Regions from separate parts of the Homo sapiens genome. Here all the other regions are linked to region 7. Evidence: promoter capture Hi-C in 16 types of primary human blood cells and fetal thymus (Javierre and others, 2016). All regions are on one chromosome and are shown on one strand. Each heading gives the region's core, a stretch centred on a gene start or on the middle of the fragment in contact. The rest is flanking DNA. Distances are from core to core; before and after follow the strand shown. Region 1 has its middle 46 kb from the start of ST8SIA6. Region 2 overlaps PLXDC2 (plexin domain containing 2). Region 3 holds the start of LOC105376436 (a long non-coding RNA gene). Region 4 holds the start of PLXDC2 (plexin domain containing 2). Region 5 overlaps PLXDC2 (plexin domain containing 2). Region 6 overlaps ST8SIA6 (ST8 alpha-N-acetyl-neuraminide alpha-2,8-sialyltransferase 6). Region 7 holds the start of NSUN6 (NOP2/Sun RNA methyltransferase 6).

Region 1 (3,633 bases), core at 17-2,516, 1.2 Mb after region 7:
TCTCTGCTCCATGAAGGCTGGTCCTCAACTGGGAAGACTCAATGAACAAGTGGGAACTTCACAATTGAGGGCTGGCATCACCTGGACAGGTCTTCAGTCACATGCTTAGCAATGGATGCTGGCTGTTGGCTGGGAATTCAGTTGAGGCTTCCTACCAGACATTTAGCCAAGGGCCTTTTTGTATGACCTAGCTTTCCTCATAGCCTGGTGGCCTCAGAGTAATTGGACTTCTTAAATGCTAGTTTAAGCCTCCACAAGTGAATATCTCAGTGAACAGGGAAGAAGCTGCGTAACTTTTTTTTTTTTTGCTTAGTCTTAGAAGTTACCGAGTGTCGTTTCTCCTGCATTTCATTGTTTACAAACAAGCCACAAGTGTACCTAGTTTCAAGAGGAGGGCACACAGACTCTGCCTCTTCATGAGAGCGTTGTCAAATAATTTATGGATGTATTTTAAAGTTTTCTGTGTTATCATCTTATTTTGCAGATGAGGTGAAGTAAGTGGGCTGAACCCAAGTTGAGTTAACTTCACAGCCACACCTCTCAATTATTAAGGTCTATTGCTTCCAAATATGTTAGAGAATAAGCACCAGTCACAGAAGGGAGAACATGTTGGGCTAAAAGATAGACTTCTTGAGGTGAGCTTGGGAAGAAGTGATGATACAAAAGGTTTTCAATGTCAATACAAAAGAGAACACCAGTTTGTTATGTTGTTCTAAAATCATATGTTCATTAAGAGGATCATTAACATGTTGATGTTCTTAAAATTAACCCAGGCTGGGAAGTATGTCAGGTCAGAAGGAAGGAAGGCAAGAGGTATTTTCTGTGGGCTTTGGAAAAAGGGGAGGAAGAAAAGTCTCAAAGATGGAGAAAAAAGGGCAGGTCATGTCCAGAAACACGTAGTCCAAATTTTTTTGCGAGGAGAATACGTTAGATCTAGGAAGAGAGCAAAGGCTTAACAGGTAAGAGGATGGAATCTTTTTTTTTTTTGAGGCAGAGTTTCACTCTTGTTGCCCAGGCTGGAGTGCAATGGTGTGATCTCGGCTCATTGCAACCTCTGCCTCCCGGGTCCAAGCAATTCTCCTGCCTCAGCCTCCTGAGTAGCTGGGATTACAGGTGCCCGCCACCACATCTGGCTAATTTTTTGTATTTTTAGTAGAGATGGGGTTTCACCATGTTGGCCAGGCTCCTGATCTCAGGAGATCTGCCCACCTCAGCCTCCCAAAGTGCTGAGATTACAGCCGTCAGCCACCACGCCGAGCCAAGAGGGTGGTATCTTATAAGGATTTTGAATGCCATGCCTAGGAATTCAGCCCTTATTCTGTAATCGTGTCATCTAAGGTTCCAGAGCAGAAAAGTAATATGATTAAATCTTTGTTTCAGACAGATAATTATGTAAGTACTATGATTATGTAAATTATATAAGTAATGTGATTTAATCTGTGTTTAAGACAGATAATTTCAAGACGATAGATGGATTAGTGTGGTAAGGCTGCAGGAAAATAACTAGAGGATAATTATTAGGCATGATGTTATTTTATTTCAGGCGTATTTTCCTAAAGAGGCATTAATCTTTTGTCTTAGTTGTACCCTCCTAAAAATACCTCTGATTTTCTCAACAGCATTCTATAACTGAAGGACTTATTTATATGTATAAGTTTACACATATAAATAATATGCATTTATATGTATACATATGTGTATACTTTCATTTACTCTACAAAAATTTTGATGAGGGTCTAAAAGCTATATATAATATGAGAGTAATTTAAAAAATCAAGGCCAGAGAAAAATTTACATTCATTAGCAAGATAAAACAAACTAGAAAATATTATGGGCCGGGCGTGGTGGCTCATGCCTGTAATCCCAGCACTTTGGGAGGCCAAGGCAGGCGGATCATGAGGTCAGGAATTCGAGACCAGCCTGACCAACACAGAGAAACCCTGTCTCTACTAAAAATACAAAAATTACCAGGCGTGGTGGTGTGCACCTGTAATCCCAGCTATTCAGGAGGCTGAGGCGGAGAATCGCTTGAACCTGGGAGGTGGAGGTTGCAGTGAGCTGAGATTGAGCCCATTGCACTCCAGCCTCGGTGACAAAGCAAGACTCTGTCTCAAAAAAAAAATAAATAAAAGAAGAAGAAATAACATATTATGCAGCAATGCAAGGCATAAGGCCATTGGAGTTACTAAATTGGGTTACAAGTTTGACCCTGAGCATCCAGGAAGCCAAAGCAAAAAGGAAAACACAAACTCCTACAAAACATATGTCACCCATGAGACAAAAATTTCCTAAGGAGAAGCAGAGTGAATGATGGTCATGAATTTGAAAGCAGTTATCACATACAGTCAAATAAAATTAGTCATTTGATCCTGGTTTTAGTAATAGAAGGAGCACATTTGTGTAGATTTTTCTTTTTTCTTTTTTTGAGACAGGGTCTCACTCTGTTGCCCAGGCTGGAGTGCCATGGTGCAGTCTTGGCTCACTGCAACCCCCGCTTCCCAGGTTCAAGCGATTCTCGTGCCTCAGCCTCCTGAGTAACTGGGATTACAGGCGCATGCCACCACACTTGACTAATTTTTGTATTTTTAGTAGAGACAGGGTTTCGCCATGTTGGCCAGGCTGGTCTTGAACTCCTGACCTCAAGTGATCCACCCACCTCAGCCTCCCAAAGTGCTGGGATTACAGATGTGAGCCACCGTGCCTGGCCAGATTTTTCTTTTTTTCTTCAGAGACAGGTTCTCACTCTGTCACCCAGGTTGGAGTGCAATGGTGCAATCATAGCTCACTGTAGCCCTGATCTCCTGGGCTCAAGTAATTCTCCCACCTCAGCCTCTTCCCAAGTAGTTGGGACTACAGGTGCGTGCCGCCATGCCTGGCTAATTAAAAAAAATTTTTTTTTTTTTTTTTGTAGAGACAGGGTCTCATTGTGTTGCCTAGGCTGGTCTCGAACTCCTGGCCTCCAGTGATCCTCCTGCCTTAGCCTCCCAAAATGCTGGGATTATAGGTGTGAGCCACCATGCCCAGTAGATTTTAATAAACTGAGAAAAGTGGAGTCGGTATGGTGCCTCAAGCATCATGTGGAGAAAGAGGTAAATGAGATACAAAGGCGTAGACTAGAAAGAGAAGAAATTTGTTACAGCAGGTCCTGGTCAGGGTACAGTGGGAGGTCAAAATAGACAAGGAGGAGTCTTACTCTCATTCTGTAGCTCACAGAAAGACTATAGATACACACAGACACACTTGAAACGTGTATCACCAGTTGTGTTTTTCAGAGGTACAAGTGCAGGTTTGTTACAAAGGTAAACTTGTGTCATGGGGGTTTGTTGTACAGATTATTTCGTCACCCAGGTATTAAGCCTAGTACCATCAGTTGTTCTTCTTGATCCTCTCCCTCCTCCCACCTGCCACCCTCTGAAAGGCCCCAGTGTGTGTCGTTCCCCTCTAGGTGTTCATGTGTTCTCATCATTTAATTCCTGCTTGTAAGTGAGAACATGCACTATTTGGTTTTCTGTTCCTGTGTTAGTTTGCTAAAGATAATGGCCTCCAGCTCCATCCATGTCCTTGCAAAGGACATGATCTCATTCTTTTTTATGGCTGCATAGTATTCCATGGTATCACCAGTTTTTAAATTTT
Region 2 (3,782 bases), core at 1,192-3,691, 1.4 Mb before region 7:
CCGATCTCAAAAGACTTGTTCACCATCATGAGAACAGTATGGGAAGAGCCTGCCCCTATGATTCAGTGATTTCCCACTGGGTCTCTCCCACAACACATGGGAATTATGGGAGCTATACAACTCAAGAAGAGATTTGGGTGGGGACATAGCCAAACCACATCATCTCTATACCGCAAACATAACATGGAGATTCTGTCCACATCAACATTACAAAATTTGCTTTTTCTTCATAAAATCATCATCAACACAATCACATTTTTTATTTTTATTTTTTCGAGACAGAGTTTCACTTTCGTCACCCAGGCTGGAGTGTCATGACACGATCTCGGCTCACTGCAACTTCCGCCTCCCAGGTTCAAGCAGTTCTCCTGCCTCAGCCTCTCGAGTATCTGGGACTACAACACGCACCACCATGCCTGGCTAATTTTGTATTTTTAGTAGAGGCAGGGTTTCACTATGTTGGCCTGGCTGGTCTTGAACTCCTGACCTCAAGTGGTCCACCTGCCTCGGCCTCCCAAAGTGCTGGGATTACAGGCGTAAGCCACCACGCCTGGCCTACATTCTTTTTTTAGATTAAGTATTTTCTGGTGACTTATTTCCTCTTAAACAGACTTTCTAGTTAAAGGCTGCAATCAGCTATTAGAGCCCACACAATGACCTTGTGTACAGCAATTAGCAACTGGTAAAATTTTTAAAGAAACATATTGCACAATTTGTAAAAATAAGATGCCAACACAACTGGCAGTGTATGTGTGATAGCCGAAGATCAAAGAGAGTTTTTAGGAATGCATTTAAGAGAAAAACTGTTTATCTCTACTTTTTAGCTAAATCTATCACACATATTTGTTGATCATTCTTGACTGTACTTTCCTCAGATATGAACTTCCATGCACATGAATAATACAACAGTTGCTGGATACAACTGACATTTTTAATTAGGTACCAGAATGAGAATTCCATGAAACATACTGTTGGCAGGCACCTAAATTTAAGCTAAGATTTCTGCTCTCAAAACTAATAGCTAAATCCTTGCAACCCAAAGTGTGGCCTATGGCCTACCCACAACTATATCACCTGAGACCTTATTAGAAACAGAATATCAGACCGGCTCAAGCCTAGAACTAAGAAATCAGAATATGCATTTTAACCAGATTCCCAGGTGATTTGTAAGCTTGTTAAAGTTTCAGAGGCATTGGCCTAGCTCCCAATCTCTGAGTCACTTTTATCATGAAACTGTACTAATATGATCCATAATACCTATTTTTAAAACCTCCCTTCTTCAGTCATCCAGTGGCTTTTGAGTCAAGGCAAAAAATCACACAGTACAGTCCTTTTAATAAACACTTTCAATGTCCCAAGAGTGGAAATAGGACACTTCCAAATATTGCATGTGAATAAGTGTTCAAAACCACATATCTGGTCTAGCATGTCACAAAGGACTTTGAGACTGATTTCTATAAAGTGAAGAACACTATAAGTGACCAACACTATTCTACAGCAATAGGCTGATGAAACTGAGCTTTATTAAGCATCAGTAATTTCAGCCAACACTGTCAAAGCACTCTCCATCCTATGAGGTGCTATCATTGCTATGAGAGCTTCATGCCAGATAATGGGAAGGTGCCAGCTTCCAGGGGAAGATGCTTGCCCTGCTCATTTACACATATGTCCCTGAGTTGTGGAATTCAGTGAAGGCTGCTCCAACAAGGCCAAATCATGAATGGAATCCAATCCTGCCTGAAAGCCCTGTAAGCCTTTATATTCCCAAAATAATTATACAAAGTAGCACATGCAGTGACTATTTCCCGACACCTCATTTTTAATACCTACACTTCAGCAGAAGGTACTTTACTTCTCACCTGGCTAAGTGGTTATACGTCCGTATGAATGAACAGAGGAAATACAAGAAGAAAGGTCTCACAGAAATCAACATTCAGATCAATAGCGGCATTTGCCATCTGTTGGGCCCCTGCTTATTCAACAGGATATACAGTTGGCTTCTAGAGATTTTATATGCTCATGGGAAGAATATTAGACAATGAAAACAATAACAACAACAAAACCTTAACTGGAAGAATTCTTTAACTGGGCTACCAAGTTTTACAATCCTTCCATTATCTGTTCTTGTGAAGAGCCAGAAAAAATACTGTCACCAAGTACCAAGTGAAGAGAATAACAGCCTTTGTGTCAAAACAGTAAACATGCTATTGTCTTGTGTTGGTTTGGGATTTTTGTTGTTGTTGTTGTTTTATTTAAGTTAAAGTAGAACATAAAGTCGAGACAATGAAAAAAAATGAGGAGAACATCTGAGGAATACCATTCTGGGTGGTTTTTGTCTCACTGTGATACACATAATTTTAACAGCCACTACTGCAGTCAGGGCTACGAGACAAAATAATTCTGACCCCTGAAACTGAGTTTGAAAGCGTCTAAAGGAAAAAAGCACACAGAGTCTTTCTAGCTCATTGTTTGTATTTAGCAATATAAACCAAAAAGATAAGCAAGACCTTGTAACAATGCCAGGCACAGAGTATTCACTTTATAACCATTTGGTTTCTTTCTTATTTCTGTTTAACAATGGGGCAAAACTATTTTCCCCAAAAGAGATGCAACCGTGTTCACAAATGCCTTTTTTACCTTTTTTTTTTCTTAGACTGAGTCTCGCTCTGTTGCCCAGGTTGGAGTACAGTGGTGGAATCTCAGCTGGCTGCAACCTACACTCCCGTGCTCATGCAATTCTCATCCTCACCCTCCTGAGTAGCTGGGATTACAGACACTCGCCAGCTAATTTTTGTATTTTTAGTAGAGATGACGTTTCACCTTGTTGGCCACGCTGATCTCAAACTACTGACTTCAGGTGATCTGCGCACTTCAGCCTACCAAAGTGCTGGGATTACAGGTGTGAGCCACTGCGCCTGGCCCACAAATACCATTTCAAGAGCCAGGATACGTAAAACTTTCTGATATGGTTTGTGTATTTGTCCCTTCCGAATCTCATTTGGAAATGTAATCCCAGTGTTGGAGGTGGGGCCTGGTGGGAGGTGTCTGAATCACAGGGGCAGATCCCTCATGAATGGCTTAGTGCCATTCCCTTGGTGATGAGTGCGTTGAGGAGAGATCTGGTTGTTTGAAAATGTGCAGCACCATGCCCCTCACTCTCTCTTGTTCCTGCTCTCATCATGTGACACGCCTGCTCCCACTTCACCTCCTGCCATGGTTGAAACCTTCCTGAGGCCACACCAGAAGCCAAGCAGATGCTGGAGCCATGCTTCCTGTAGGGCCTACAGAACCGTGAGCTAAATCAACCTCTTCTCTTTATGAATTACCCAGTCTCGGTATTTCTTTATAGGAAGGCAAAAATGGCCTAGTACACTTTCCAAACTTTCAGAGGTAGATTTTTGTTTCCGCAACTAGTGGCAGTGCCAAGGAGCTACTTGAGGACTTTAGATCCCAATAATCTCCATCAATCCCCAGAACCCCAACAAAATAAATGAATCTTGAAATAAAAGCAGTGTTCTTAGTATGCAACCCTGGATTCAAAACAAGTCTTTTATGAGCCAGACTGAAACCCCACAATTACCCTCCTATGGATACTCATGGGCTGCTGCTGTTCAAAATCACTACATAATTCAAGTGTCATTTGTCTTTCCTTTTGCTAGAAAGAGCAACGTCAAGCCTAGAGGATCAACCCTGTAAGCCTGGCAAAGCTTGCATTTGAATACCAGCAGGGTTTGAATGCTCATTAATGGGAGACCTTAGGAAAATACTAAAACCTAACTCTG
Region 3 (4,080 bases), core at 988-3,487, 1.2 Mb after region 7:
AAGTGAGCCTTGTTAGGATTGTGCAGGAGGCGACAGACACGGTGGGGAGATGAAGCTTAGAGATTGCTGGCACCAAATCAGACATTCATGGAGGTCCAAGTGCAGCTACTTTGGAAAAGAGTTTGGCAGTTTCTTAAAAAGTTAAACATATGCTGGACATGGTGGCTCACGCCTGTAATCCCAGCACTTTGCTGAGGCCGAGGCGGGTGGATCACCTGAGGTCAGGAGTTTTAGACCAGCCTGGCCAGCATGGCAAAACCCTGCCTCTACTACAAATACAAAAATTAGCAGGATGTGATGGTGGGTGCCTCTAATTCCAGCTACTTGGGAGGCTGAGGCACAAGAATCACTTGAACATGGAAGGCGGAGGTTGCAGTGAGCCAAGATTGCACCACTGCACTCCAGTCTGGGTGACAGAGAGAGGCTCCATCCCCAACTCCAAAAAAAAAAAAAAAAAAAGAGAGGGAAGAAGCACAGAAAGTAATAATGCATGACCTGTAAATCACATGTAGTGAGATGTGTAAAAAGCTGAATACCTAAACACTTGAGATATGAATCTGAAAAGCTGGAAGAGGAAGAAATGAAATTATCATTTTAAATGAAGAAGATAGCATTTTCAACTTGAAATTAAGTAGAAACTGTAAAACTGTAAAAAGCTGTAGTTTGGAAGGTGGTTTGTGTTTTTTATTTGCCATAATATGTCATCTTATGGAGGCTGTGAAGCACATTTTGGGTAAAGCAGTCTGAGTCAGTGACCAACACACTGGATTGAAAAAGAATTGTTAACTCTGAAAATGTGACTGAATTATGTGAAGAGGCTCAAAAGGTAAGAGTTATTCTAACAAGGTCTGTGCAATATTCTCTTGGTCTTAATCCCTTTTCCTCAAAGATGAGAGTTTGCCTTTCCTTTTAGTACAGAGGAAGTGTCTTTTACATGGGAATTTAATCTTTTGCTTTTAATAAATACCGCAAAGGTCAAAATGATTTTCTTTGTTATCTTCTGGTTTCCAAGTGTCTTTACTTAAATAGTCAGTATGACAGAATAGCTGAGGAGTTTTGGAAAAAGAGAGCTTAGCTTAGAGAAAGATAAAGAGGAGGAGGTGTAGGAAGGGAAGGGAAAGGCTTTGGACTGGAAAGTCTCAGCTAGCTCACAGGCAGTCTTTGAGTCCTGAATGTGTTTTGGAGCCTTCAGATACCAATTGAGATATGTGTCCTATTTGGACTGTGTGATTTTATAGGTGTCATTTTTTTTTTTTAGTTTAGTTTTCAGAAAAACAGACTCTTTGAATAATCTCCATAATGTTTGTATATGTTACCAGCTGGGGTCCCAGAGCTAGGAGCTATATTGGCATGCCTTTGAACTTTGAGAGCCCATTTGTAAATAAATTTATCTAGGTGATTCGGTTTAATGCCGAATACACAAAAGCCAAATTAAACTCTTAAGTGTGCAAATGAATTGGAGTCTAAAGTACATACTTATCAAGAAAGATGATAACTCTTCTCCAGTGGGGAAAAGTCCCTGTAACCAGGAGGGGAAAAAACCCTTTCTAAACAGGAGATCTCATAACCAGGACAGGGAAAGACCTCTCATAACCAATTCCCAAATAAAATCAAGCTCAGTAAAATAAAATAAAAAGAGAGTTTAGTCCAAGAGAGACTCAACAGGCAGTAAAAGAGGCAACCTACAGAAACAGGGGGGCATGGCCAGGCATGGTGGCTCACACCTGTATTCCCAGCACTTTAGGAGGCTGAGGTGGATGAATCACGAAGTCAGGAGTTCGAGATCGGCCTGGCCAATATGGTGAAACCCCATCTCTACTAAAAATACAAAAATTAGCTGGGCATGGTGGTGCCCACCTGTAGTCCCAGCTACTCAGGAGGCTGAGGCAGAAGAATCGCCTGAACCCAGGGGGCAGAGATTGCAGTGAGCCAAGATTGGGCCACTGCACTCCAGCCTGGGTGACAGAAGAAAGAAAGGAAGAGAGAAAGAGAGAAAGGGAGGGAAGGGAGGGAAGGGAAGGAAGGGAAGGAAGGGAAGGGAGAAAGAGAAAGAGAAAGAGAGACAGAAGGAAGGAAGGAAGGAAGGAAGGAAGGAAGGAAGGAAGGAAGGAAGGAAGGAAACAGGGGGTCCAAGGGGCCTGAATGTGGGTACCACAAGCCATAGTTCCAGGGCCTGTTGTTGATCTCTCCAAGGTGAGTCTGCTTCAGACCCCACTTCTGACACCAAGTATGCTGAAATCAAAATAAAATATAGAGATTGTCCAGGCATGGTGGCTTACACCTGTAATCCCAGCACTTTGGGAGGCCAAGCCAAGAGGATTTCTTGAGGCCAGGAGTTCATGACTAGCCTGAGCAACATAGTGAGACCATGTCTCTATAAACTAAAAATTAAAAAATAAAATAAAATTACCTGAGTGTGATGGCACATGTGTAGTCCCAACTACTTGGCAGGTTGAGGCAGAAGAATTGCTTGAGTCCAGGAGTTCAAGGCTGCATTGAGCTGTGATTGCGCCACTGCACTCCAGCCTGAGGCAACAGAGCAAGACCCTGTCTCAAATATATGTGAAATACGTATGAGAGAGAGAGAGAGAGAAATGAATCTGTAAGTGAAATGTTTTATTTGGGAATCATAGAATTGCAATTTGGGGCATACACACAGATGGAGTGTTCTTGGGTATGCCTGAAGAACAAAGAGAAGGTTGGGAGTTTGTATTAGTTAGTTTTCACGCTGCTGATAAAGACGTACCCGAGACTGAGCAATTTACAAAAGAAAGAAGTTTAATGTATTCACAGTCGCACGTGGCTGGAAAGGCCTCACAATCATGGTGGAAGGTAAAAGGCATATCTCACAGGGTGGCAGACAAGGGAAGAGGGCTTGTGCAGGAAAACTACCCTTTATAAAACCATCAGATACTATTCACAACAGCAAAGACTTGGAACCAACCCAAATGTCCAACAATGATAGACTGGATTAAGAAAATGTGACACATATACACCATGGAATACTATGCAGCCATAAAAAATGATGAGTTCATGTCCTTTGTAGGGACATGGATGAAGCTGGAAACCATCATTCTCAGCAAACTATCACAAGGACAAAAAACCAAACACTGCATGTTCTCACTCATAGGTGGGAATTGAACAATGAGAACACTTGGACACAGGATGGGGAACATCACACACCAGGGACTGTTGTGGGGTGGGGGGAGGGGGGAGGGATAGCATTAGGAGAGATACCTAATGCTAAATGACAAGTTAATGGGTGCAGCACACCAACATGGCACATGTATACATATGTAACAAACCTGCACGTTGTGCACATGTACCCTAAAACTTACAGTATAAAAAAACAAAAACAAAAACAAACCATCAGATCTAGTGAGACTTACTCACTAGCATGAGAATAGCACATGAAAGACCTGCTCCCATGATTCAATTACCTCCCCCCCAGGGACCCTCCCACAACATGTGGGAATTAAAGATGAGATGTGGGTGGGGACACAGCCAAACAATATTGGAGTTTTATCAGTAAGACAAGTGTTATGTATTGTTTTGAAAGAAAGCTCATTGGCACGATAGAAGGTTTTGGGAGCTGGCAAGCTCTGACTGGTGAGTGACAGTGGTAAGTAAAACTAGTCTTAGAGTCGCAGCAGGTGATTCCAGCAGCTGCTAAGTAAAACTCATCTTAGGGTTACAGCACATTGTTTTAGTAGCTGGGTTTGTGGATAATTTTTGAAACAGGTGCTATGTGCGGAATGCTTTCCCTCCGCTGGTCCCTAGACTCTGATTTATTTGGGTATGGCAAGAATCACCCAATTCACATAATCAACTTTCACAGAAGTAATTTTGTTGTTGGGATATGAGAGGATGTAACTTTTTGAAGTGCATCAACTTTTAAGAAGTCTCGTTAGGGAATCCACATTGTTATAAAAAATATCTTGAGGTGAGACACAGACACAATGGGCAAAATTCTCCATTAATATTCAGATTTCTTGTATTGCCTGCCCCCCACCCCCCCAACCCCCCATTTTATAAGCAGTTCAAGTCAGGGCTGAAATGCTGTTTGTTTAAGATAGAGAA
Region 4 (4,025 bases), core at 74-2,573, 1.2 Mb before region 7:
TGCGCCGGCCGCATTTACCCCGCCCCCCTTCCAGCGCCCGCTTGGCCCAGGTCACTAGACGGAGCTAGTGGGGATCGCCAGGGGAAGGAAGGTGCTGCCACAGGGAATTTTCTCGTGCAGAGGGGAGACCTGCAATCCCTGGCTTTCACAACGTCCCCCACCCACCCCATACCACACACGCTTAGTTTAACCAGCAGCGAGGAAGGAGGAGGAGCCGGAGAGCACACAGCCTGGAGATGCCAGGTCCTAGGAGATGTATCCACGGAAGAAGCTTTGCTCTCACACTGAAGCCCTCCCTGGGCTACTTTGGGGAGACAGTACCACCCCCTGCCGCCCAGGTGAAGTAAGCCCGAAAGCCTCAAGAAAACCCCTAGTCCCCGGCGTCCTTCTCTTGATAACCCTCTTTCCCCATTTGGGAAGCCTAAGTTTAGCCGAAAAGCAACTGCAATAAGTTTCCCAAGGGCAGATAGGTGATGTTGGGGGGAGAGGGTAGGGAGCACGAGAGTGCCAGAGAGGTCTTCAGCTGCGCACAAAATCAGCAAGCTAAAGTGCATCTTACTTACCAAGGATTTGGTCTCCGGGTTTCCCATCGGCGAACTGAAACTGGTCCGTGAAGAAGTGGCAAAGTAACATAACTCCTGCAGCGGCCAGGTCGGCCTTCGGGAACCTCGCCATGCCGCCGCCGCCACCTCCCTACCCCACCCGCCAGTCCTTCGCCGGTGCTCGGGGGCTCCCGATGCAATAGGCACGACCGGGCCAAACGCTGCGGATCGGTCTCGGTAGGACCCGGAGGCCTTTGTAAATGTCGCTGCGATTTCACAGTAGGGAACCGAGAAGAGGAAGAAGCGAACGCGAGTAGGAGCGCAGCGCTCTTCGGACCTCTGAGGCTCTCTTTGCAACTTGCCACACTCGCAGCCCTCACCCGACACTGAACAACAACCGCGGGGAGGAGAGGCCACTTGCAGCCGAGGCTCGCAAACTGTCGGTTCCACTCGGGCAGCGCCAACCCGGTGCCCGCGGACGGTGACTTCCGAGCCCCAGCGATGCGCTCCACTGGGTTCAAAACAGATCTAATTCCACAGCCAGCGCCGCTGCCTGCCCCAGATCCACTAGGGCTGGTCGGCTCTGCAGGAACTTTCCTCTGTCTAGGGATGGCCCCGGCAGGAGGTTTAGGTTTGCGGGAAGGAGGTTGATGACGAAACCCTCCCGACAAGTTTTGCTTCTTTTCTTCGCCCGACGCAGGGCGCGCGTCCTTTCTCGCAGCCGGAGGAATGGGCAGCTCCAAAGAGCTGAGCCCTGGGAAGGTTAGGGCTGCAGCAGTCTGAGGTCCGAAGCCAGGAAAAAAATGTGTTTAAAAAAAAAAAAAAAAAAGAGGAAGAAGAAAGGAAAAGGGTGGAGTGGGAGGGAGTCACGCTGGAACCTATCGGGAGAGGGTTCCTCCGGGCTCAGGAGGAGGTGGCCCCAAGCCCCCGCGGAGCCCCAGGAGTTTGGTGGCGGAGGAGGCGCTGCCGTCGCCACGCTCCCCCGCGCTCCTTCTCCACACTTTGAGGAGGGAAGGCAGCTCGCAATTTGCCAGATCTGCCGCCGCACCCTCCTCCCTCCTCCCTCCGCCCTCCCCTTCGCTCCTCCAGGCTTCTCCCACCTTCCTCCCTGAAACCGGCAGCCCGCACAGACCTGTCCAATGGCTGCACTTTCCTCGGGGCTGGCTGAGGAGTCGCGGCCAACAGATTAAGCCGGGGGAGCCTAGCGAAGGGGAGGGAGAGGGCCACTCCAGCCCCGTGCGCCCCAGGCAGCCGGCTGCCCCAGAGCGCGGGGAGAGGGGACAGGCCGGGGAGCTATCGGGGGAGCGCGGGGCGGTACCTCCGCGCCGCCGGGGCGCCATCCTCGCAGCCTGCTCGCACGCCCTGGGCAGCTCCGCCAACTGCGCCCCACACCCACCTGGCTCCCGGGCCGCCTTCGCGCCCGACTGCGGGGGGCGATCGCGCCCCGCCCCGACCCTGGCGGGGTCTCCCTGGGCACGAAAGGGTTAACCACAGCTCGCCCCTTCGCGGAGGCTGGTTCTGGTAGTGGCTAGGGAGTGGAGAAAGCAAACCAGAGCCGGTTCGGTTACCGACTCTGCGAAGCCCCCTCGACCCCAGCCCAGCGCGGGAGGGTGGCGGAAGGTGGTGCACCGCAGCGTGGTCCCCGCCGCTGCCGCCGCGGCTTTGCAAAGTGTCAGCGGGGGCGAAAGCGAGAGTTTAAAGGAACAGGAGGCCCATTGAATTTCCTACCGGAGCTTTCAGGGGCTCTGGCTCCCCAGTTTGTTTTTGTTTTTTCAGCTCGGGGATCTGTTTCCGCGTTAACCCTTGCCGGCCCTCTCGTTAGTTGATATCTTATTTTGCATACAGTTAATCATTTTTGAAAGGGATAAATACAAGGAAAAGAAGCAAAGCGCTATTGGTTAAAAGTACAGGATCTAGAGCCCGGACAGCCTGGGCTGGAATTTCACCTCCCCCGCAATGAGCAGTTTATCTCCTAGCCTCAGTTATCCATCCATCAAATGGAGAGAATTAGAGTAACGCCCTTATAAGGTGGTTGCAATGGATTGGATGAGTTAACTGTATATTTAATAAATATAGAACATTGCCTACCGCAAAGTACATGGCTTTGTTTAAGTGTTTACTGAAGCAAAAGTGAGAGAAGACGACTTCAATCACATAATAAATGTGCATGTGTTCTAAGTTCAAGGTCCTTTCCACTCCAAGCTCTGAAGAGTCTATGGATGCTGTCAATAGATGTCTCGGCTTGCCACAAAACCCACTGGAAGTGGATCCGGATAATCAATCTACCTTTGCAAATGTGATGCTCAAAGGACGGCTCTCTCATGGGAAACAAGAAAGGTTTCCCTTAATCCAATACTCAATTTGCTCTTTATTTCCAAACAACAGATATACACGTATAAACACAAACATATATCATGCCTATACTCTTTATTATGCCAGGACCCTGGCTCTTTCCTGAGCTTTCCTCCCATAGGTTGATTTCTACTTAGGTAACTGGGTTTTTCTATTTCTGCTTAACTAGGAGTGTTTAAGTTCTATGTAATATTACATCCGAATTTGAGTACCCGGATATATACCTGCTTAAAATCAAGTTTGAAAACTGAGTCTTCTCATCAAAACCTGATTGTGCGGTTGACCCTTGAACAACAGGGGTTTGAACTGCGAGGATCCGCTTTTGCATGGATTTTCTTCCTCCTCTGCCACCCCTAACAGAGCAAGACTAACCCCTCCTCTTCCTCCGCTTCAGCCCACTCAATGTGAAGACGATGAGGATGAAAGCCTTTCTGATGATCCACTTCCACTTAATAAACAGTAAGTATATTTATCTTCCTTATGATTTTCTTAACATTTTCTTTTCTCTAGCTTACTTTATTTTAAGAATACAGTATGTAATATGTAGAACATACCAAATATGTGTTAATCAACTGTTTTTATATTATCAGTAATGCTTCTAATCAACAGTAGGGTATTAGCAGTTAAGTTTATGAGGAGTCGAAATTATACATTAATTTTCTACTGTGTGGGGGTCCGTCCCCCTGACCCCCATACTGTTCAAGGGTCAACTATAGTTTAATTGATGCCGATTCTTTTTGAGGATCATAAATCCATGCGGAAAGCGTCCCAAAATATTCTGCACAACTCCAGCTCCCATCATATCTAAAATAATGGGGAATCCAGCGGAAACCATTTCAAGAAAGCACCTCTTTTTTCAGACCGAGTTATTTCTCCTTCTTTCACAGTAGAAAAATAGGTGTTTCCTCCTCTGAGAACAAGCAAATCTCCACCTCTCCTTGCTATCATTTTCTTTCTTTTTTCCTTTATTATTTTATGTGCGTATTCGCAGGGTTCATTTTTCTTGTTACTTGCGGTCATCAATGCTTTGACCACCTGATTGAAACTATATACTTTTTGTAAGTAGAAATTTGATGTCAAAATTTGAAAGGGGGTAAATGGTCATTCAGGGTCAGTCAGGAAGGACTTTTA
Region 5 (3,770 bases), core at 900-3,399, 1.2 Mb before region 7:
CGTACCACTGCACTCCAGTCTGGGCAATAGAATGAGACCCTGTCTCAAAAATAAATAAATCAATAAATATATAAATTTATTGAATTGTAACTATTTTTTCCTTCTTGTTTCACCAAAATGCAAGTAATGGACAGAGGAAATGGTTTTACGTTAGTCACTTTTTGCTAATATCTTGTCAGGTTAAGAGTCTTACATGAACAAGAAATAAACTAAACCAAAACAAAAAGGACAGGCCTCGGTTGCTGATTTATGTGGAAGCATGTGACAAAGCAATTTACATAGGCAAACAATGATAAATGACCTAACAAGTTCAGTTACAAACTGAACGATCACTGCAGACTGATGCACATTTATATTCTATGTTTGCATTTCTGCATGTCTTATAAAACAAATTGCAAAATCCATTAATTTTGCATTTTGGTGTTTTTGTGTTTGCAACTCATTACAAAGTTAAACTAGGTCGGATCATTTCAGCAAGCACAAACTATGTAACCACCTTAGCATTCACCCATAAATATTGTAAAATTATCAGAACCTGACCTAAGCCACCCATTTATCATCTTTTACTTTCTTTCCAACTCATTTATTTGTCTCTGCCTGCCCACCAACACACACATACACACACACACACACACACACACACACACACACACTCTCTCTCTCTCTCTCTCTCTCTCACTTACTCAATGAGAAAACAGAGCAATGTTGCAATTACTAAGAGAAACAACCGTATGATCTATCCTGAAAGATAACCTACTGATAAGAAGGGCTTATGTGTTTTAACTTTTGTTCTTGTTTGTAATTTCAAACTTGCATAAGCTTGATATTTCACTTCATTTCTTTTTTTTACTTCAACCTGGTGAGGAATGTCTTGCTGGGTAACATGTTACAGGTGATTACAATCAGCCCTTTTAGTCCTCAAACAATCTTATAAAACAACTGTTGATAAAAAAAAAACCTTCAATTCACCTCGCAAGCAATACTTGGAGAAAATAAATAATGTCTCTTTTATAAGACTTTACAGTTTCTTAGTGAGAAGAGAGTTCCAAAAATTTCTTGAAAGGCAATTTTGAACTTATTCCCTGATTCCTTAAACACAAATAAAGGCTAGAAAGTCCCTATTTCACAAATGCTTACTGAGTACCTAATATGTGCAAGGGACTATTTTAATCACCACAAAAATTCATCTTCGCAAGAGCCATAAAATTAATTACAGTGAGGAAAAACAACATTCTTTCTTCTATTTATTATTGTAATTCCCGATCTCCTTATTGGCGAAAGAACAATGGAGTCAGGATTGCCTTTCTTTCAGGGTGTAAAATTGACTTTAAAAAGTGGCTGAAACTAAACAAATTATTTTACATATCCTGGTCTTGAATGCAGCTGTTATTTCTTTATGCTGTTAGAACCATTTCGTAGCCCCAGACTTCACTGATAAAATAAAATGGAACTTACTCATTTTTCCTGCTGCCACTTCTTAAGATGAGATTCTCTTTCCAACAAACTTGATTCTATTTGAGTGATTTCATGGATTTAAGGACTTCAGGTTACATAAAACGTGATATCATCTAAGCCTTAATTAAATTTTTATTAGGTGTCACAGCAATATTCTTGCAAGTGATAAAAGAAAGCCTTTTTAAAGTCAAGTTGCATTTTTGGAAGGCTGTGATCATTTTTGTTGAGACAGTGATCCTAACATGGTTTCCTGTATTGCTAGTATAGATTCTCAACTCACTTATGCACCTACTGATTGTCTTCCCCCATGCCTATAAATGAGCTCAAATCTCCTTTGCCGGCAAAAAACCCTCTCTTCTCTTATGTTCCCCTCTGGCCACTCCCTCTCTGTCATTTACTTCCCAACCATACTCTTTTTTTTGTTTTCTTTTCAGACAGGGTCTCACTCTGTTGCCCAGGCTGGAGTGCGGTGGACCAATCTTGGCTCACTGCAGCCTCAACCTCTTGGGCTCAAGAAATCCTTCCACCTCAGCTTCCAGTGTAGCTGGGACCACAGATGTGCACCACCACATCCTGCTAATTTTTTTATTTTTATTTTTGTAGAGATGGGGTCTCACTTTGTTGCCCAGGCTGGTCTCAAACTGCTGGGCTCAAGCGATCCTCCCATGTCAGCCCCCCAAAGTGCTGAAATTATGGCTGTGAGCCACCACACCCAGATCCCAGCCATGCTTTTTAAAAGGCTGGCACGTCATCCACCTTACTGCATCCTTCTCTGATCTTCATCACTACCCTACCACAATCTGCCACCAGCTAGCCACCATTCCTCCACCAAAACCACTCTTATTGAATTCCCTGATCTGTCCTAGTGATGCTTTTCCTAATCTGCCTCTCACTCTAGGTGGCTCCTCCTATATCTCCCGCCTGGGGGCCCATTCCTCAGTTTCCCCTTCCCAGACCAGCTCTCTAGGACTCTGACCTTGACCCTCTGCTCTTCTCTGATTATTCCTGCTCACTGGCTGGTTCCCATCACCACCAGATACACCTCGATGATTTGACATCCTGAACTCATCTGAGCCCTCCCTGCTGAGCCCCAGTCCTGGGAGAGTTGCTGTCTTCACTGGTATGTCCCATGAGCACCTCAGTACTCGCCAAGTCTAAGGTTGAGCTCATGTTTCTATTCCCTAAAGCACCTGGAAAACATGAGAATTATCTTAGCTATCCTCCTCTTATCTGAAGCCTGCATCACATTCCATCTTTATTGATCCAGTAGTGCTGAATTTGGTCTATCTCTAGACCTGCCCTTCCTAGCTGCTCTCCACACTAGAGAGACCCTTTGAAGAGCCCATCTGAGTTTGTCACTCAGCTGATAAAAAACCTGTCTGGGTGCGGTGGCTCAAGTCTGAAATTTCAGCACTTTGGGCCAACTGTCAACTTCATGGGAGAATTCAACACCCGGCTAGGTGTGCAAGGCCCTTCCTAATCTTGTGCCTGCTCTTGCCCAACAGGCAAGGGCAGTTCCCTGAAGATTTCACAGTTCTCTGCCCCAGGATTGTTCTCTCTGTTCAGGATGCCTTTCCATCATCTCTGCCCTCCTGCCACTCACACTTCAAATGCAGACCCAGACATACCTCCCTAGGAAGCCTTCCCTGACTCTCTAGGCTAAGACCTATGCTCCCATTTCTCAATGCCATAGTGAATGCACCCACTCTCTCTCTCACACACATATATACACACATCACATTTTCTTACAATTGTCCTTTTTACTTCATGGTAACCTCTACCTGGCAAAGGCTGTATTTTGTATCCCTTCACATCACAATGCTAGGCGCATAGGATACATCTAGCAAATGTTTGTATAGTGAATAAATAATTCTTCTCAGAGCTAAACCTCACTATCAACCCCAACCTAACAGCATATTAATGTCACTTTAATTCAGTCATCTCAGTCCTTTCGAAACAATTACATCTTGAGCCAATTTTGTTTAGTTTATAGGCTAATCCAATTAGATAATTTGGGAAGCTTGAAAAGTTACTAATGTCTGATAATATTAACAAACAGTCTATTGCCAGATGTGTATTGAAATGGTGGCATAGGTGGTATACAGATAGTGTAGCAAATGGGATATTGATTCGGTCCTCAGAGACCCCAACCTCTTTCTTGAGCAGTTTTCTCTCAGCCCCTTTTTGGTATATCTGTCCCTTTGCCTTTGTTAACCCCTGTCTCTTCACAGACACACACAGACACACACACACTCTCTCTCTCTCTCTCTCTCTCTCTACCTCTCTCTTTCTCTGTGATTTTGTGCTGTTCTTGA
Region 6 (3,913 bases), core at 493-2,992, 1.2 Mb after region 7:
GAATCCTCATCTATGCTGCAATCCCATTTACTCTTCTCAGTTATTTATTTCCCACACCCTCTCCCAAACTCAAGTTTGACAAATGCTGAAAGAACTTTCTCACTTACACCTGGACTATATAGATTTCTTTCCCCTTCCTGTACTCCCTCCCCTACCTCCTCACATACACCTCTGTACTTTATTATTTTTGACTGACAACAGATTTCTCCAAGTCTTACCCCTCCTAAGCCTTTCAGGTTCTATCTTCTATTAATTCCCTGTCAACTCTCTAACTCTGATGTGTGAAGAGCCCAGGACTGGTCTAGCTGAGACAATTCTCCCTAGGAGACAGATGGGGCAGGAACAAAAGGAGAAGCAGGGAAGGCAATTAGGGGCTTATTTTGGCAGCCTGGAGCTGGGTGGAGAGTCTGAGATCAACTTCATTCTTTCAGTGAACATTCATTGTGTGCCAGGTCTGTGCTTGGTGCTGGAGAATGTGCAGGGAGCATGCCAGACAAAAGCCTGCCCTCCTGGAGCTCACTGTGCTAAGTGGTAGGAAAGAAGTCGAAATAAATGCTGATGGCGGGGGTGGGAGGTGAGCATTCCATAGGGAGTAGCAAAAGTCACTCTGAGGGGTTGACATTCGAGTTAAGACCTGAAGCACTAACAGGAACGCTCAAGGCAGAGGAACAGCAGCCCTAAACATGGCATATTTGAGAAGCAGAAAGAATGGATCATGGAGGGTGATAGGGTTTGGATGGTTGTCCCCTCCAAATCTCATGTTGAAATGTGAGCTTCAGTGTTAGAAGTGGGCCTAGTGAGAGGTGTTTGGGTCATGGGGGCAGATCCCTCATGAATGTCTCGGCAGTAATGAGTGAGTTCTTATTCTCTGAGTTCACACAAGATCTGGTTGTTTCAAAAAGCCTGGCACTGTCTCCTCTCTCTCTCTCTCTATCCATGTGATGTGCTGGCTCTCCTTTACATCCCGCCATGATTATAAGCTTCCTGAATCCCTCACCAGAAGCAGATGCTGGCACGATGCTTTGTGTACAGCCTGCAGAACTGTGAGCCAAATAAACCTCTTTTCCTGATGAACTACCCAGTCTCAGGCATTTATTTACAGCAATGTAAATGGACCAATACAGAGAGCAAAGGAGGAAATAGACCTACTAAGTCAGGTTATGTTGTAGGATGCAAGCCTTGGTGAGGATGAGTTTTATTCTAATAATAAGTGAAGCCTCAGAAGGGTTCTGAGCAAGGGCATGACAATATGTCATGTATGACAAGTATGATTTAAGTTTTTAAAAGAGTACTCTGATAGCTGCATAGAGAATGTGTGGCAGTCAGGCAATTGAAGCAGAAAGACTACTTATGGGGCCATGGCTTCCATCCAGACAAGAGCTGATGTGCCTTGAATGAGGCAATAGAAGTACCGATAAAGAGAAGTAGATGGATTTACGGCTGAATCGTCAAAAGCCCGGGTATAGGAGAGAAGAGAAGGACAGGAATCCGAATGATAAATGTTTGGCTTGAGCAGTTCATTACCATCCATAGAGATGGGGAAGACTGGAAAAGAGGGAAGTCAAAGGTTATGTTTTGGATATGCTACATTTGACAAGACTATTAGACGTCCAATTGGAAATGTCAGATGGGCATTTCGACCATATAAATGAGTCTGGAGCTCAAGGGAGAGGTCAGAACTGCACATATCAATCTGGGTGTCATCGCCAGAGAGATAGGACTCAAAGCCAGAGAGTAGAATGAGCTCACTTAGCTCTGGAGATAGGTGGAGAAGAAAAGGGGATCTAGGAGCAAGTTCTAGGGTATTCCCACATTTAGAGGCTTGAAAGAGAAGCAGAAGCCAGCAAAGGAGAGGCAGAGGGAGCAGCCAGGGATGCAGAAAGAAAACCAGGAGAGTGTGATGTGGTTTTCAGGGAAGAGGAGCAGTTGACTGGGTCAGGTGTTCTTGAAAGATCAAGTAAGATAAGTGCGGCCCAGTACAGTGGCTCACCTCTGTAATCCCAGCCCTTTGGGAGGCTGAGGCCGGTGGATCACTTGAGGTCAGGAGTTCAAGACCAGCCTGGGCAACATGGTGAAACCCTGTCTCTACTAAAAATAAAAAAATTAGCTGAGCACGGTGGCGCACCTGTAATCCCAGTTACTCGGGAGGCTGAGGCAGGAGAATCGCATAAACCTGGGAGGTGGAGGTTGCAGTGAGCCGATATCATGCCACTGCACTCCAGCCTGGGTGACAGAGCAGGATTCTGTCTCAAAAAAAAAAAAAAAAAAAAAAAAGACAAGTGAGGCGTCCATTGAATTTGGAACATGGGGGCTTTTGATGAGCTTGAGATGAGCCATGTTGGGTGAGAGAGCCCTTTCTTTCCACTCTGCATGTCTGATATTTGAGTCTGAGAAATAAACTAACAGATCACTTAACGAGAGAAAAGGCTAACACATATATTATGTGTATGCGTGCATTCCAGGAAGGTGAGTGTCCAATGACCCAATGGGATTTAGAAGCTTATATACCCTTCTTCACAGGGAGGGGGAAGGGTGGGATGCAGACAATTTAGAGGAGGAGTAAATGAGTTTTAGGGAAGATGAATGGGCCTGAAGAACAGATGGTAGTCTGAGACAAAGCCCATCTGGACTCCTGGTGTGTCATCAATTCTAGTCTTCTTTTCCTGGGATAGGCTTCAGTCTTCTCCCAGTCATTGAGATACCCTGGGGAAGCGATTGACAATGATTGAGTATCTTAGGAGAATCCTGTGTTTAGGTAGGGAGGGACCTTTGGGGAAAGTCCTTCTCTGCATTTGCTGCTCTCCATGTGCTCTCAGTTTGAAGTCTGAAGTGTCATATTTTGGGCTTTCATTTTCTGAGTCCCAGAAGCTACATTAGCCAGTTTTAAGTCTTCTGATGAGGGAATAGATTGTTGAGGAAGGGGAAGCAGTAATTTTAGATAATTTGTTAGAGAAGTGGTGCTTACAGGGGGTAGAAAAATGAGTTGGGAGATGGAGAGGGATTATGGAGTCAAGGGAGGAGCGTGTTTGTGTGCTTGTGAGAAGGATAACCCTAGTTATGTAAGAGAAGGAAGAGATGAGGGGGTCAGTAATGTTAAGAAAGTGAGACGGGCAGGAGCCAGAACATACTGGGGGTTACTGATTTTTGATGAGAGCAGGGACATTTTTTTCTGTTGTAACATATGGTAAGATGAAAAACACAGGCACTCTGAAGGACTGAATTCTGTCTCCCCAAAATTCATGTTGAAGCCACAGTCTCAAATGTGACTATATTAGAAGATAAGGTCTTTAGGGAGATAATTCTATTTAAATGAGGTCATAGAGCTACCCCTTAATTTGATAGGGCTGGTGTCTTTATAAGAAGAGGAAGAGACACTAGCACTCTCTCCCTCATGCATGCACCAAGAAAAGACAATGTGAGGACCCAGCCAGCAGGCAGCTGTCTGCAAGCCAGGAAGAGAGCCCTCACCAGGTACCAACGATGCCAACATTTTGAGTCTTCAAAATATGAGATGAAAAATTTCTGTTGTTTAAGCCACTCATTTTATGGTATTTTGTTATGGCAGCCCAAGCTGACTAAGACAGGCACAGAAACTTAGAGATTTTTAGATACAGTGGGAGCAGTATGAAAGTGTTGCTCCTCTGCAGGCTTCTATTTTTTTCAATAAAGTATGAAGTGAGGTCATCAGCAGCAGAGAGTGAGTGTGGAGGTGGGGATATGGGAGGTTGGAGGAGACGGGAGAATAAATAACAATTTTGAAAGAGGAAAATGAAATTTATTAGGAAAACATAGTAGGACTGCCAGGTATCCTTAAATGCCCATTTGAAGTTCATAGAACTTAGAGTGAAATCATTCAGGAGAGTTTCTCTAGCAGTATTTGGCTAGTTGGGGGTAGCCCCAAATGGCAAAGAGT
Region 7 (3,772 bases), core at 30-2,529:
GAAAATGGGCTGGGCGTGGTGGCTCACGCCTGTAATCCCAGCACTTTGGGAGGCTAGAGAGTCAGATCAGTTGAAGTCAGGAGTTTGAGACCAGCCTGGCCAGCATGGTGAAACCCCGTCTCTATTAAAATTACAAAGATTAGCTGGGCCTGGTGGCACATGCCTGTAATTTTAGCTACTCGGGAGGCCAAGGCAGGAGAATCTCTTGAACCAGGAGGTGGAGGTTGCAGTGAGTCGAGATCCCACCATTCCACTCCAGTCTGGGCGACAGAGACTCAAAAAAAAAAAAAAAAAAAGAGCAGAGAAAATGATAAACAACTTGCAGGTTGTTGTGTGGTATAATGGTCATTCATTATTTTCTACTCTTTCTGGTAAAGAGTTGGTGTGTCATGGAAAGTACCTGTTCTATGTGTGTGTGTCTGTGTGTATAATTCGGTGTGAAAATTAAAGAGAAAAAAACAATAAAAAACCCTTTCCTATACTTATGTGTAAATTACCATGGTGTGCTGCAAAAAACATATGTCAAGGTGATAGAATTATTTTGACTTTCCTGTACAGTTATAAAATGACTCAGTGAGTTTGGTTAGATATCCTCGTTCTTTGAATCTATATCCTTGTCTGCTTATGATGAAAAAAAAGAAAAAAAAATAATGGCGAGGGTCTTCCAAACTCTAAAGAATATGTCAACTATGATACAAGTAGCAGTTAGCCTTATAACTAACTGTAAACACTGTCTGTGGGTTTTAAGTTTTACCTGAGCATTGGATATTAACAGACCATTAGCCCAACTTTCAAAAATATGAACCCTATGAACTTCACAACTGAAGTCAGATCTGTATGCCTGAGAGAGGTAAAATCATGTCATGAAATCAAACGGTGGCTGATGCGCCCAAATTCTGGCCTCATCCTCTAACTGGAGGACATCTGGCAGGACAGCAACTGGGCTGTGCCTTTTTTCAGTCCAGCAACATCTTCCACTCAACCCACGCCATTTGGCTGTTTCCCCATTGCCCCTGGCACCTAGCCCTCCGGTACCGGGAACTAAATATCTTTGACCATCCCGCCCGCGGGGTCTGCCTACTTAACCTGAGGCAGGTGAAAGAGCCTCACGCAGGGTTAGGAACCTCCGGGGGCGTGGCGTAGCGTAACGCAGTGTTGGGGAAACTTGCGGCTGTGGATTGGGGGACCGGAAAGGGAGGGGTGGGCCGCAGGCGCCGGACGTGACGTAAGCCGGAAGCGACTTTCCGCCGAGAAATAGGGGGCGCGTGTTTGGAAATTGATAGAAAAGATAAAGGGACCGAGCTGCTGTCAGCCTGGCTTACTGATCTGCGTCCGTTTCACCACGGATTCAGTTACTAAGCATTTTTTTCTTTTTTTGGTTCTTTGCAACGTGAGTGGCATTGGCTCAGTGATTTCCATGAGCATCTCTACCAGAAAACATTGCCTCGATGAGGTGTGGTGGAAGCCCGGCAGCCCCTTCTAATCGGCTAGGCTTGAGAAAGCGTGTACCTCTGCATTTCCGAAATTAACTCAGCGTGATCGGCAAGATTTTCCTCAGCATCTGGTGTCAAGACACTCGTCACTATTAATTCGGAAAGAAAAAAAAAAACAAAACACCGTTTTCCAGCATTTCTCTTGGTGGAGAACTAAACAACAGGAAAAATGTCTATTTTCCCTAAGATATCTTTGAGACCTGAGGTTGAAAACTATCTTAAGGAAGGCTTTATGAATAAGGAGGTAGGTCAAGTAAAGATGTTAGTTGATATTTTGCAAAAACTCAAATATTCGCACACTCGAGAGAAATAGAAATAAGTATAAAGGGAAATCTTGACAGCCGTCGTTCCTTACTACTTGTCTATCAAGTGTAAAAATACCAATATGTTTCTACAGGTATTAAAGCTTACTGAGATACGAAGTGAATAAGGTATATGTTTTAACATTTAGGAGTGGAAAAGAAGGGAAAAAAGGCATGTGCCTGTCAGGCATGGCACAAAGGGTTACAAGGATGAACAAGAAAAGGTCCCTGTCTTCAAGAACTCGAATCGAATTTTAAAAGAGCGCTGGCTCTGGCACTCAGGTGAAAAGGTTTCTGTAATTTGTTGAGTGCCTCTTAAATGCCAGCAGTTGTGCTAGGAGATTTGCATCTTTAATCTTCACAATCTTTTTTTTCTTAGAGGTTTTTCCTCTTTTAATAGACTTGAGCAGAAAACTGCTCAAGGAATTGTGTAACTGATCCAAGTTGACACAGCTATCAAGTAACTATTGAAATCTGGAGGGAAAGAGTTCAGGTGTAATGAACAAAGGTACAGCTTTTGAATCTCAGGCACATGATTTGCATTCTAGTGCTTTGTAAATTACGTGGCTTAACCTAGATTTTTCTCTTCTGTGAAAAATTGAGAATGGTTAAAAATATCTTGCCAGGTTGTTTTAGGATATTAAACGTAAGTGAATACAACTAGCATTGTTTTGGCATGTAAGTCCTCAAAAAATGTTAATTTTATTTGCTAAAGTCCTCAGTAAATGTTGATTATCTTTGATTGCAAAGCCTGTTGTCTATTCCATTTTACCATGCTGCCTCTAAGCAACTTTGTTTTTTTTCAAATCTTTAATTTTTTAGTCAAGTTAAAAATATTTTACCAGGTTGTTTTAGGATATTAAACGTAAATGAAAACAACTTGCATTGTTTTGGCATGTAAGTCTTCAAAAAATGTTAATTTTGTTTGCAATTGGCAGTGCCTGCCACAGAAGTCCTCAGTAAATGTTGATTGTCTTTTATTGCAAAGCCTGTCCTCTCTACCACTTTACCATGTTGCCTCTAAGCAACTTTGTTTTTTTTGAAATCTTTAGTTTTCTTAGTTAGAGTAACACCACTTAAATGTTACTCATTTTTGAATATGTTATTGAAGCCATGCCTTTTAGATTTGATTTCTACGTTTCATTTCCAAAGATTAGCTTGAGGTACTAGACTGTATGGAAAGAGAAAATATATTCTGTTGATTTCAAGGGACTTAAAATATAAGGCACATATTAGGAGAAGTAGGGGCATACCACAATTTTTTCAGCAGATTTTAAAATGGAGAACGTCGTTTTATAAAGAAGATCCAAACGTCTTTCTTTGACACTGCCTCTGCCTCGAGTCTCATCAGTGGTATGGTTTTACAAAATGAAAAGCTATGCCTTTGTGAAAAGTACTGAAGGGAAAGGAATATTAAGTTTTATGCCTTTTTTTTTTTTTTTTGAGACAGGGTCTCCCTCTGTTGCCCATGTTGGAGTGCAGTGACATGATCACAGCTCACTGCTGCTTCGACCTCTGGGACTCAAGTGATCCTCTCACCTCAGCCTCCCGAGTAGCTGGGACCTCAGACAGGGGCCACCACTCTGGCTAATAATATTTGTATTGTTTGTAGTGATGGGGTTTCACCATGTTGCCCAGGCTGAATGTTCAGTTTTGATAAGACTAAACCTTGAGAAAGTATGAATACTTTTAAGGCTGGTGCATGAGTAGGCTAACAAGTGGTTTGTGAAGATTCTGTAAAGCAGGGTTTAGTCAAATAGGAAGACAAAGAAATACGTTTCTTGAAAAGCTTCGGTTAATTACAAGGGAATATTGTTGAGTCTTTATACCGTCATATTTGACAGGTGTCTTTGCTACTCATCTTTTTTGGATAATATATATTTGTTACATTTAATAACACCATATTAAAAAGCTGATGTCCTAGGGGAATCTTTATATGACAGTGACTATATCAATATTACTTATTTTTTAAATATT

Evidence for each region. The method cuts DNA at HindIII sites, captures the fragments that hold promoters and counts their contacts. A CHiCAGO score of 5 or more calls a contact.
Region 1: a fragment that was not itself captured here is called in contact with the fragment with the promoter of NSUN6 in region 7 in 1 of 17 cell types (total CD4 T cells); the score reaches 5.3 in total CD4 T cells.
Region 2: a fragment that was not itself captured here is called in contact with the fragment with the promoter of NSUN6 in region 7 in 1 of 17 cell types (monocytes); the score reaches 8.7 in monocytes.
Region 3: a fragment that was not itself captured here is called in contact with the fragment with the promoter of NSUN6 in region 7 in 1 of 17 cell types (naive CD4 T cells); the score reaches 6.4 in naive CD4 T cells.
Region 4: a contact is called between the fragment with the promoter of PLXDC2 here and the fragment with the promoter of NSUN6 in region 7, in 1 of 17 cell types (monocytes). The highest score is 6.6, in monocytes.
Region 5: a contact is called between a fragment that was not itself captured here and the fragment with the promoter of NSUN6 in region 7, in 1 of 17 cell types (M2 macrophages). The highest score is 5.2, in M2 macrophages.
Region 6: a contact is called between a fragment that was not itself captured here and the fragment with the promoter of NSUN6 in region 7, in 5 of 17 cell types (non-activated CD4 T cells, total CD4 T cells, naive CD4 T cells and 2 more). The highest score is 17.6, in non-activated CD4 T cells.

What each region holds. Positions count from the first base shown.
Region 1 is chr10:17,499,156-17,502,788 of GRCh38, reverse strand. No RefSeq gene overlaps it. Among named protein-coding and RNA genes, the nearest start is that of ST8SIA6, 46 kb to the right of the region's middle. The HindIII fragment of the contact is 8,012 bases long and covers 1-3,633 here.
Region 2 is chr10:20,005,047-20,008,828 of GRCh38, reverse strand. All of the region lies in intron 2 of PLXDC2 (plexin domain containing 2), which reads right to left. Among named protein-coding and RNA genes, the nearest start is that of PLXDC2, 190 kb to the right of the region's middle. The HindIII fragment of the contact is 2,536 bases long and covers 1,174-3,709 here.
Region 3 is chr10:17,435,651-17,439,730 of GRCh38, reverse strand. The region is part of intron 2 of ST8SIA6 (ST8 alpha-N-acetyl-neuraminide alpha-2,8-sialyltransferase 6); the gene reads left to right. LOC105376436 (a long non-coding RNA gene) reads right to left here and starts at 2,441. Exons shown (of 4, transcript XR_007062074.1): 1 at 2,411-2,441. The HindIII fragment of the contact is 4,359 bases long and covers 58-4,080 here.
Region 4 is chr10:19,813,730-19,817,754 of GRCh38, reverse strand. It overlaps PLXDC2 (plexin domain containing 2), which reads right to left and starts at 1,323. Exons shown (of 14, transcript NM_032812.9): 1 at 564-1,323. The coding sequence starts at 675. LOC124902388 (a long non-coding RNA gene) reads left to right here and starts at 1,527. Exons shown (of 2, transcript XR_007062078.1): 1 at 1,527-3,353. RefSeq lists an enhancer at 1,634-2,399. The HindIII fragment of the contact is 8,470 bases long and covers 274-4,025 here.
Region 5 is chr10:19,834,293-19,838,062 of GRCh38, reverse strand. All of the region lies in intron 1 of PLXDC2 (plexin domain containing 2), which reads right to left. Among named protein-coding and RNA genes, the nearest start is that of PLXDC2, 20 kb to the right of the region's middle. The HindIII fragment of the contact is 2,656 bases long and covers 822-3,477 here.
Region 6 is chr10:17,414,165-17,418,077 of GRCh38, reverse strand. All of the region lies in intron 2 of ST8SIA6 (ST8 alpha-N-acetyl-neuraminide alpha-2,8-sialyltransferase 6), which reads left to right. Among named protein-coding and RNA genes, the nearest start is that of ST8SIA6-AS1, 29 kb to the right of the region's middle. The HindIII fragment of the contact is 1,519 bases long and covers 983-2,501 here.
Region 7 is chr10:18,649,094-18,652,865 of GRCh38, reverse strand. NSUN6 (NOP2/Sun RNA methyltransferase 6) reads left to right here and starts at 1,279. Exons shown (of 11, transcript NM_182543.5): 1 at 1,279-1,737. The coding sequence starts at 1,663. RefSeq lists an enhancer at 1,040-1,139. The HindIII fragment of the contact is 3,002 bases long and covers 1-1,901 here.